2 separate regions of the Homo sapiens genome follow, and region 2 is linked to region 1. Evidence: promoter capture Hi-C in human tissues and cell types (Jung and others, 2019). All regions are on one chromosome and are shown on one strand. Each heading gives the region's core, a stretch centred on a gene start or on the middle of the fragment in contact. The rest is flanking DNA. Distances are from core to core; before and after follow the strand shown.

Region 1 (4,381 bases), core at 1-2,500:
GATTTCTATGGATTACCTCAATAGACTCATATCACTGTCATCTCCAAAAGAACTGCGAGGATTCCCATTTATGGATTAGCAAACTGAGAATTTATATGAAATGATGCTCCTGTTTAATGAGGGACTGTCTCATGTAAAGAATAACACATCAATGCAGGGAATGAGGCCACTGTATGAGGTATGTTCACCCCCTAAGAACGGTCTTTCTCCTATCTAAGAAATGATTCGATTCCCTCACACTGAGAATGGCCTACATCCCATATGGAATGATCCTCCTCATACCCAGAATGGTCTCTCCAACCCCTCACTCCTGTGACAACTGGTTCCTCTCGAACCAGAATAGTCTACTAAATACAAGAAATGATTCCCACATGCTCCCAGGGACTGAATCCTGTATCAGGAATGGTTATCCCACCAAGAAAGGTCTGGCTCCCTCAACCAGATGAGGAAATACTTCCCTGCACTCCACATGGTCTGCCCTCCCACCACCGCACACGGACCCTCTAGCTAATGAATTTTTCCTTGCTCTACCCACACTCACAATGAGCTCTCTCTGCTATAAGGAAGGACCCGGCACTCTCAGAACGTTCTTTCTCCACCATATAACGATGAGCCCTCCCACCCGAATGTACAATGAACTCTACCTCCATTAGGAGGGAGCCCCCAGAACGGTCTCCTCCGCACATAATGAAAGACACCCCCATCCTCAAAATGGACCCTCTCTAGTCACATAAAGAAGGACTCGCCCCACCCTAACTCACAATAGTCTCTGTCCCTTTATAAGGAAGGAACCACCACCCTCAGAATAGTCTCCCCCTTCTTCAGTGAGGAACTCCCACACCCGCAGAATGGTCTCTTCCACACGGAAGGACTCCACATATTCAGAATGGTTTCGGTGGCCTTAGCCTTCCCAAAAAGAATTACCCACCACACTCACAATGGTCTCTACTCTCCATATGCGGAAGGATCCCACAATCACTCTCAGAATGTTCTCTTCCCCGCCCCCAACACACTGACAATGTGCACACACACACACACACACACGTCGGTCCACACGGGATGCTCCCTCTCACTTTAGTGAGGAACATTCCCGACTCCCAGCGATCCCGACCTCCGCCTCCCATGCGACTGCTCGGGCAGACTGTCTCACCCGCACTGGCGGTCCCCGGCTCCAATGCACCCGCGGAAACCGCCCCTGGCCCGGGCGCCGCGGTGGAACCACCAGCCCCAACCGCTGCCATGTTGGCATCTGCCCGGCCCGTCCCCTCGGCAACAGAAAAACCACTTCCGCGTTCGTCACTTCCGCTGCCGGGCCACCTGAGTGAAGGTGGAGCGAGAGCCGGGATCGTCAGGGTGGTGGCTTTTCTCCTCCGCTCCTAAAAGCTCAATGTATGAATAGCCCCGGGATTTCCAAATTCCGTCGGATCGGGAGGCCGGGGACACGGCCCGATCGGCCTACCCACCATCCCTACAGAGCTTCATCGGCCCATTCCTGTCACTAGACCCGCCTTATCCTGCCGTTCGTCCGCTTCACTGATCGCGCTTTCCAGATCATCCCCCGATCTTGTCTCCTAGACTCATTGGTTCAGCCACCCCTTTCATCTCGGCTCTTTATTGGCAGCTTCTCCATAAGGCGCCGCCCTTTCCGTATCAGAAACTACCAGGTGCTTCATGGTTGGACTGAAATTCCGCTTTCCCGTCTTCCAGAGAGGCCTCGCCCCCTGGAGAGCACACGGGAATCTGGGGACGAAGAAACTTTGACCTGGCGGGGTCGGGGTGAGGGCGTACTGGCATCAGGTGCGAGTCAGGAATGTTAAGCTAGCAGATAAAAGCAGAGCAGGTGAGGATAAACAAGTGAAAATGCAAAGGAAAGTTGACGCACATAAGGGAAGACAAGTGAGTCACCACTGAGGATGGCAAAGGGGACAGGCGAAAGGCTCACAGGTTAGCTAGCATTTGGAAGCAGGGCAAGAGTCCGGGCCAGAGGCGGTGGCTCACGCCTGTAATCCCAGCACTTTGGGAGGCTGAGCCGGGCGATCACCTGAGCTCAGGAGTTCCAGCCTGGGCAAAACGACAAAACCCCGTCTCAAATAAAAAAAAAAAATTACCCGGGCTTAGTGGTATGCACCTGTACCCAGCTACTCTGGAGGCTGAGGCAGGAGAACCGCTGGAACCCGGAAGGCGGAGTTTATACTGAACCGAGACAAATAAGCAGGGCAAGAGAGGGAACAACTCAGGTCGGAACAAGTGAAACCAACATGGAATAGGGTAGGCCAGGTAAGTCAAGTGTTGAAGGAGAAATTAGAGGGATGGGTATGTAAGGGTAAAGATGGGGGAAGAGGCTAAAGATAAAGAGCAAAACAGGTGACTACACCCTGGACAGATTCCAGTCAGCGCCCAACCCCAGCCCCGCCCTGGCCAGTACCCTGACAGGGCTTTTCTTCTGCAACAGGGGAAAGGGCTTCTTCATTCCCCTGGGGTGCCAGGGAAGGTAGTTTTTCTGCTTCTGAGATAGCCATCTTGATTGGGGATGTGCCCTAAACACCTTCAATATGCACAGTATCTCCAACAGAGAACCCTTCTGCACATACTGGGCACTGCATAAGATCAGGGGCAGGGGAATCAAGATTTTTTTGTGTGTGTGTGGTGCAGCTTCAAGAATCCTTAAAGCTCTTTAGGATGGCAACATAAGACTGTGGCTTCCTGAGGACAAAGCAGAGGGACAGTCTGTCTCAGTGCACAGTAGATGCTCCATAAAAGCCTCACACCTACAAATGGCCAGCCGCTTCTGATTCTATTACTTTTATTAAATAGTGGGTTTCCACACATGGCTTTTTAAATAATCCAGGCAGGAGAAGAGAGGAGGGCACACTTGGAACTCCCCTCCCCACAATACGTGATTATTTACATTTTAGTAATTGGACAATCCCGGCTCAGGAGGAGGTTGCAAGAATCTGCAAAAGTTGGAGGGAGCGCCCCAGGAGAACAAACAGCAAGCCTTATTTCCCCTAGCCCATCCCCCAAAAAACCATCCATCCCATCCTAGTGTCTGGTGGTGTCCGGTGGTGTCCATCTTCCATTCCTTCCCAAATTATGGAAGTAAGGTTCTTCTCACCAGAATAAGAGCACTTGGGATAACAGAGTAGGGTCCCCTCACCCAAAAAAAAAAAAAAAAAAAAGAAGCCTTGGGGTAACAACAGGGCATTACCTCCCCCAGAATAAAGAATCCTGGGCTGAGGCAGGTAAGCAGCTTGACCCAATATGGGACCCTAGGCTAGGGGAAAGGGTCCCTTTACTAAAATAAAAGCTACTGGGGTATTGGAAGGAAAGCACCCTTGCCCAAGTAAGAGCATATGAACTAAGTTTGTGTGGTGGTAGTAGGAGGTGCCAATGTGGGGTGACACATCATCAGAATAAGAGTCCCGGGGCTCAGAATGGGAACAACTTCACCAAAATAAACTTCCTTAGCAAAATGAGAAGCAAGAAGTTCCCCCTCCAGAATCAGGGACCACAGGTTCTGGGAGGAAGGCTCCTTTGTAGGATTGGGAAGGGAACTGGGCAGACTTGGTTTATGTCTTCTAACCCCTGATCCTCAATCCCTTACCTTAGTAATACTGGACTTTAATGACTGGTAATGACCTGTAAAACCAAGTCAACAAATGTCCATCTATCCCTGTGACATGGCCATGGGATGGCTCTTCTGACCATTGGGGGCCAGGCCAGGCCAGGCCAGGCTTAGGGTAGCAAGGACCAGGCCAAAGGGGCAGGGCCTCCTTTGGAGGGGTTGAGGGGTACATCCTCGGCTGGTGTTTGCATCCAGGGGTCCAGCAGGATCTCTTCCAGTGAGGGTCGGGAAGAAGGTTTGGGGGCCAGGCACCGGCGGATTAGGGCACAGCAGTCTGTAGGCCAAGAAGCAGAGAGGGAAGATTAGCAGTCAGTAGGGGGTACTGGTCCCTGAGAAGGATGGAGTCTTCTGGGCTGGGGTCAGTGAGGCCTCACCTGGGGAGACATGGGCTGGGAAGTGGAGCTCAGCTTCCAGAATCTCCTGGTCCCTCTCAAAGGGAATGTCCCCACACACCATGTCATAGAGGAGGATGCCCAGTGACCAGACAGTGGCCGGGAGTGCATGGTACTGGTGTCGAGAGATCCACTCTGGGGGGCTGTACACCCTTGTCCCTGCACACAAGCCAGGGGTTAGACCAACTCAATCTCATGATGCCCTTCTCCAACCCCAAACTCTCCAGGAAGGATGGCCTCACCACAATTAAGAGCACTCAAGATAAAAGCAGAGTCCCCTCACTAGATAAAAAGCAGCTAAAATAACAGAGTCCCCTCAACAGAATAAAAGCACTGAAAAGTAACAGGATCCCCTTACCAGAGA
Region 2 (5,562 bases), core at 95-2,594, 350 kb after region 1:
TCCCCCTTTTACACGTATGGAAACTGAGGCTCATGGAGATCGAGTAACTTTTTAAAGATCAAACAGCTAATAAGTTGCAGAGCTGGCCTCAGCCCTGTCACCTCACCTACTTGGCCCCAGTCCTCTTCTCTTGTCACATGGGGATGGGGACACATAGCTATGCTCATGGGACTACAATACGGCCTCCTCCTCTCCTGAGACAGGGATTGGGAGGTCGGGGAGAGCCTCCAATCTCTGAGGCCTGGCAGGTGGGGATTTTCTTGGCCCTGCAACATCTGCATAAGTCACAGACTTGCCTGGGACCCAGAAACCACTTCCTGTGCCCCAGCCAGCCCCCCTCCCGCCCAGTGCCACAGTAAAGGTCGGCACCTGTAGGTCCAGGTACCCCACCCTGCCTGCCCCATCCTGGGCCCAGGGCCTCACCTGCAGCTGCGATGGTGGCATGGGGTTCAAGGAAGAAGAGGAGGCATGGGCCCCGCCTCGAAGATCTCGGCCCTGGAAGGTTCCCCCTGGGCCCCGGGCCCCCAGCAGGTCTGAGGCTTTGGGTGCAGCCCTCCAGCTGGGCGAGGCTCCTGGGGATGGGCCAAGGGCCAAGGAAGGGGCCGAGGGCTTGCCAGGCCTGGGGTTGGGCATCGGGTCCTTGTCCAAGGGCAGGCTGCGTAGACAATAGGGGAAAGGAGTCACACGTGTGCTAGGGCGGTATGAGATACTCGACCACCTGAGCCACGTGGACACTCCTCTGGTCAAAGCAGGCATTGGCTGGGACATGTCCCGAGGGGCCCCATAGTTGCACCCCAGCTCTAGACACACACACACACACACACACACACACACACCAAGAACACAGGTACATGTACATACCCACACATGCCCCACGTGCAGAGGTCCAGCACCTGGCTTGCCTGCCCACGCTAGCACAGCCCTGGTGTGGATGTGTCCTCTATGAGGGCAATGGTTGTTTCCCCCTCCACTTGAGAGCTGTTTCAAGCCTCAGGCCTCTAGCCCTCCCTGCACCCTGCACAGGCTGTGTTTGCTCATCTTGCCGGAGCTGGTCTCGGACTTTCTCCTCGGAGTCCTATTTTGCCCCAGTGACTAGGCATGGACTCAAAAGATTCATCTGGCTGCTGTGAGTGGGGCTAGTGAGGAGGCTATTGTAACAGTCCTGGCAAGTGATGATGCTGGCACAGAATGGGCTGGTGGCAGTGGAGAAGGCGAGAAGTGGGTAGATTCTGAGACTTAATCTGAAGCTGGATCAGGAGCAGTGCTAGCAGCTTGGATGTAGTGGGCAAGAGGGAGAGTCAAAGTGACATGGGTTTTAGCTTGAGCAGCTGGAAGGACCGAGCTGACATTACCTGAGATGGGGGACATGGCGGGGAGTTGGATTGGGTGCAAAAGTGCAGGTGTAGATAGACATGAAGAGTCTGGCATTAAATATGTGAGTGGAGGAGCTGAGGGGGCAGCTGAATACGGGGGTCTGGATCTCAGGGCAAGGAGGCGAGTCCAGGAGTGTGATCATGCACGGATCCAGCATGGCAAGTGACAGAGAGGAGGAGAGATGGGGTCTCTTGAGCTGGGGCCTGTAGAAGCTTCTCTACCCAGCCCCCATCAGAGTTCACCCCAATTTCTGGCCCTCAAGCCTGGCTCATGCTACACCCCCTGCCTCAAATGCCCACTCCTTCTCCTCTTTCCCTGTCCAAGCCACGCAAGACCTGCTCTTCTATTGTCCTCACCTTGAAAGCCCTCCACAATGGCTCCGGGCCCCCTGCTGAGCCCCAGAACCTTCCACTCCCTGAGGGAAGCACTGGCTTTTCAGGATCCTATAATCCTGGTCTGAGAGGAAGCCAGAGCTGGAAGGGACTGCCCAGCCAACCCCATTATACAGAAGGGGATGCTCAGATGCCGAGTTCCGTAGTCCCATAGTGACTTGAGAACTCCACTTCTTTCTTTAGGAAGTGTTTCCGTGTGCACATTTTATAAACTCTCTGGTGTGTGTGTGTGTGTGTCTCCATCTCCCCGTTCCACCTCACAGCACTGAGTTGGGCACACAGCTGCTGAGAGCAGCCCGGGGGAGTATAGAAGGGTTCTGGGGGAGCAGTTGCTCCTTCCTTTCTTTGCTGTCACCTCCTGGGGGTGGTTGTCAGAGCTGTGGTGCTGAGGGAGATGAGTGTGAGAATCCAGGTATTAAGTTCTTAGTCTCCTGGGGGCTTAGAACATTACTGCGTGAGAAACAGGAGTGTGGGTCTGTGGAGGCTCCGAACAAGGGCCTGGGAGAGCACTGGTGAGATGAGAAGGTGAGTGAATGAATGAAGCCAGAGATGGGGTGATGCTCCTTCAAGCCAAGAAATAACAAAGATTGCCAGCAACCACCAGAAGCTGGGGGAGAGGCCTGGAGCAGCTTCTCCCTTATGGCCCCCAGAAGGAACCAACCCTGGCAACACCTTGATCTTGGACTCTGGCCTCCAGAACTGTGAGATGATCAATTTCTGTTGCTGAAGCCACTCAGTTGTGGTACTTTGTTATAGCAGCCAGAACAAACTAATACCGATTTCGGTGCAAATGGATGTTTTCCACCACTCTGGCCTGGCCCATGTGGCTGGCCTGTGGTCACTTCTGAAGCTGCCTGGACACTTGGCCAGAGCTAAGAATTCTCCCCAAACACATGTGGGATGGCCTGACTCAGCAAAGCATAGATACATTCTCAGACAGGGACATGGAGATGATCTGTCTGGGGGTAGAGGACCTAGAGGGCCGGGCTGGGCAGCCGGCTTCCTGCACTGTCTGTTGGGACGTCCCTTTCTGACTGGGTTTCTCAGAAGCTGAATGGGGGATGTTTCTGGGACACAGATTATGTTTTCATATCGGGGTCTGCATCTGGGCCCTGTTGTCACAGCCCCCGACTTGCCCAGATTTTTCCGCCATTGACGTCATGGCGGCCGGATGCGCCGGGCTTCATCGACACCACGGAGGAAGAGAAGAGGGCAGATACCCCACCCCACAGGTTTCGTTCCGAGAACTGGCTGCCCTGTCCTGCAGCAGGCTTGGCCCAGGTGGGGTGACATGGGTGCTGGTGGATGTGGTAGGTGATGTCCATCTGGCCACTATGACAAGCCCCTAGCTCTGAAGACCTGGCCCTTCTTGGGTTGTGGAGAGGACCCAGGTTTGAAGCTCTGAGAGTGCCAGGCAGGCTCCACAGATACTGGGACCCCTGGGGTCTTCAAATAGTATAACACCAGGACCTCAGAATCATAGAACAGCATTTCTTAGATTTAAAGGATCCTAGAATCTCAAAACCACAGACTGTGGGGTCTACGGTCCCAAAGTCTCAGTATGTGTAGGCCAGTGTCCCTGGTGTCCAAACTCCTTGGAACCATCTGAAAGTCAGGCAGCTTGCTGCTTCATAGGGCCTCTTGCCTACCAGGCCTGGAAACAGAGCCAGCCTCCCTAGGGCCTCAGTCTCCCTGTCCACTCTGGAACAACGTTCCCAAATACATGGCCACTCCGCCAGAGATGGCAACAGGGGGAGGAGGAGGTTGAGGCTGGTGTGCCTTTGGTCTGGGCCTCATGGGGGGAGCTGGAAAAGCCTCAGCCTTCGCCAATACAGAGCCCATCATCAGACTCTCTAGAGGGGCCCCACAATCAAGGTTTTCGGGGACCAGCACCAGCTCTGGGGACACACAGCCTGACTGACTGACATGCCTCCATCATCACCACGCTCTGGCCAACTAGGCCTCCTGACCTATGGAGTCCGGGGCCTCACCTAGCCCAGCTCTTGTGAGGCTGGGCCCCACACTGTGATCGTGGATCGTCCAACCTGTGGGAAGTTGGGGTCCAACGTGTGAGAAGGCAGAAGGGGGAATGGTAGCCCAGGTTCCCCTTCCCCCTTCTGGGTGCTGAGGGGTAAACTGAGGCCTGCAGTTGGGGAGAGAGCCAGAACCAGGGTCCCACCTAGAGTCCTGAGATCTAGGCTTGGATTTCAACTCTGCCGCTGCATTTCGGTGAGGCCCTGAGATCTCTGGTCTTCAATTTGCCCTTCTACACTGAGCACGGAGAGGCGTGGAGTAGACAAGGGCCAGGGCCCTTCTACGCTGTCTGGTTAAGTCATTAGGTGTCTGCAGGGCTTCAAGTTGACAATTGCCCCTCTATCCAGGGGACTGGCTGAGAGATAGGGATACATAGAGACAAAGAGACACACACAAAGAGCGAGCAAGAGAGAACAAGAGATAGTGAGAGACATTGAGAGAAATGGACACATGCATGGAGAGCCAGAGTGCATGTGTGCGAGAGGAGGATTGCCTCAAATAAGAACATTTGCTGGTCTCTGGCTGGTTCAACTGATGCTGCCTGAAATAATCAAGAATAAAGAAGGGCAAGGTGCCAGGGACACCCATGGCTGGGTATTGAATTGTATTGCAAAGCAACAATCAGCAAAACAGTGTGGCCCTGGTATAAGAACAGATACTGGGGAAGAGAACAGAATAGAAAGCTTGGACATGGACCCACATATGGAGAGAACTGAATTTGTGATGAATGTGGCATTTCAAACTGGAGGACCATGGAGTATGGTTTAACAAATGTGTCTGAGATAATTAGGGAGAAGATAAAGTTATTGAGTGAATAGTCAGTCCATTATCCCAACAACCCCTCCCTGCCCAGTTTGAAATGTCACCATCATCATATACCCTAAAATGCCCAGATCCATTCAAGATATAAGTTTTAACACCTAATGCTGATCTTGGGTTTATTGTGTGTCAGGCCTTGTGCTAAGTATTTACTGTGGTTAAAAATTTTAATCTAAACAAAGACTCCTGAGGAAGGTACTATTATAACCATTGCAGTACATATGAGGAAATGGAGGTATGGAGAGGTTAAGTGCCTGGCTAAAAATCACACATAGGGCTTGGGGTGACGCTGGGTTTGTCCCAGACAGTCTGGCTCCAGTACCCACACTCTTAACCTCTATAGTAAATGGAAAAAATGAAGCCATAAAAGAGACTAGAAGCCAACATAGGTGAACATTTATCTCATTTTCAAGTAGGAAAGGACTTTCTAAGCACAAAACCAGAGACAGAAGCCACAGAAAAAAAGACTAACCTATTTGACTGTATAAAACCATCATAAGCATCACAAAAAACACCATAAACAAATAGAAAAAAAGCAAATGATGAATTGGGGAAAATATTTGCTATATATGTAATGGCTGATGAAAGGTTAATAACCATTCCAAATAAAGAGCTGTGGCAAATCAATAAGGGAAAAATAAGATGAACACCCTATTAGGAGTAAGGACATGACCAGACAACCAAAAAAAAAAAAAAAAAAGCATGAATGGCCAATGAATAGTAAAAGTAATCACAAGATGCAAATTTCAACAATGTGATAATGTGTTTTTCTTACCTGTCATGTTGGGAAATAATTAAAACATAATAATACTCACCTAGGGTTAGCTTAAGTAGAGGGAGCATAAAATAGGACAACCTTTTGGAAGGAGAATTAGCAGAGAGGGTCATAAACTTTAAAAATGCACGCCCCCTTTGCCCCAGCAACTCCCTTTTCAGGAATCCA

What was found. Contacts are between HindIII fragments. The study calls those that stand out against the background at their distance.
Region 2: a fragment that was not itself captured here is called in contact with the fragment with the promoter of SLC35A2 in region 1 in 1 of the 25 tissues and cell types used here (spleen).

Annotation. Positions count from the first base shown.
Region 1 is chrX:48,910,396-48,914,776 of GRCh38, forward strand. It overlaps SLC35A2 (solute carrier family 35 member A2), which reads right to left and starts at 1,251. Exons shown (of 5, transcript NM_005660.3): 1 at 1,151-1,251. The coding sequence starts at 1,241. PIM2 (Pim-2 proto-oncogene, serine/threonine kinase) reads right to left here. Exons shown (of 6, transcript NM_006875.4): 5 at 4,000-4,176; 6 at 2,787-3,899. The coding sequence ends at 3,736. RefSeq lists a silencer at 445-494 and enhancers at 855-904, 2,145-2,194, 3,885-3,934. The HindIII fragment of the contact is 19,848 bases long and covers 1-4,381 here.
Region 2 is chrX:49,257,873-49,263,434 of GRCh38, forward strand. FOXP3 (forkhead box P3) reads right to left here. Exons shown (of 12, transcript NM_014009.4): 2 at 424-655. The coding sequence starts at 633. Among named protein-coding and RNA genes, the nearest start is that of FOXP3, 4.1 kb to the right of the region's middle. The HindIII fragment of the contact is 7,509 bases long and covers 1-5,099 here.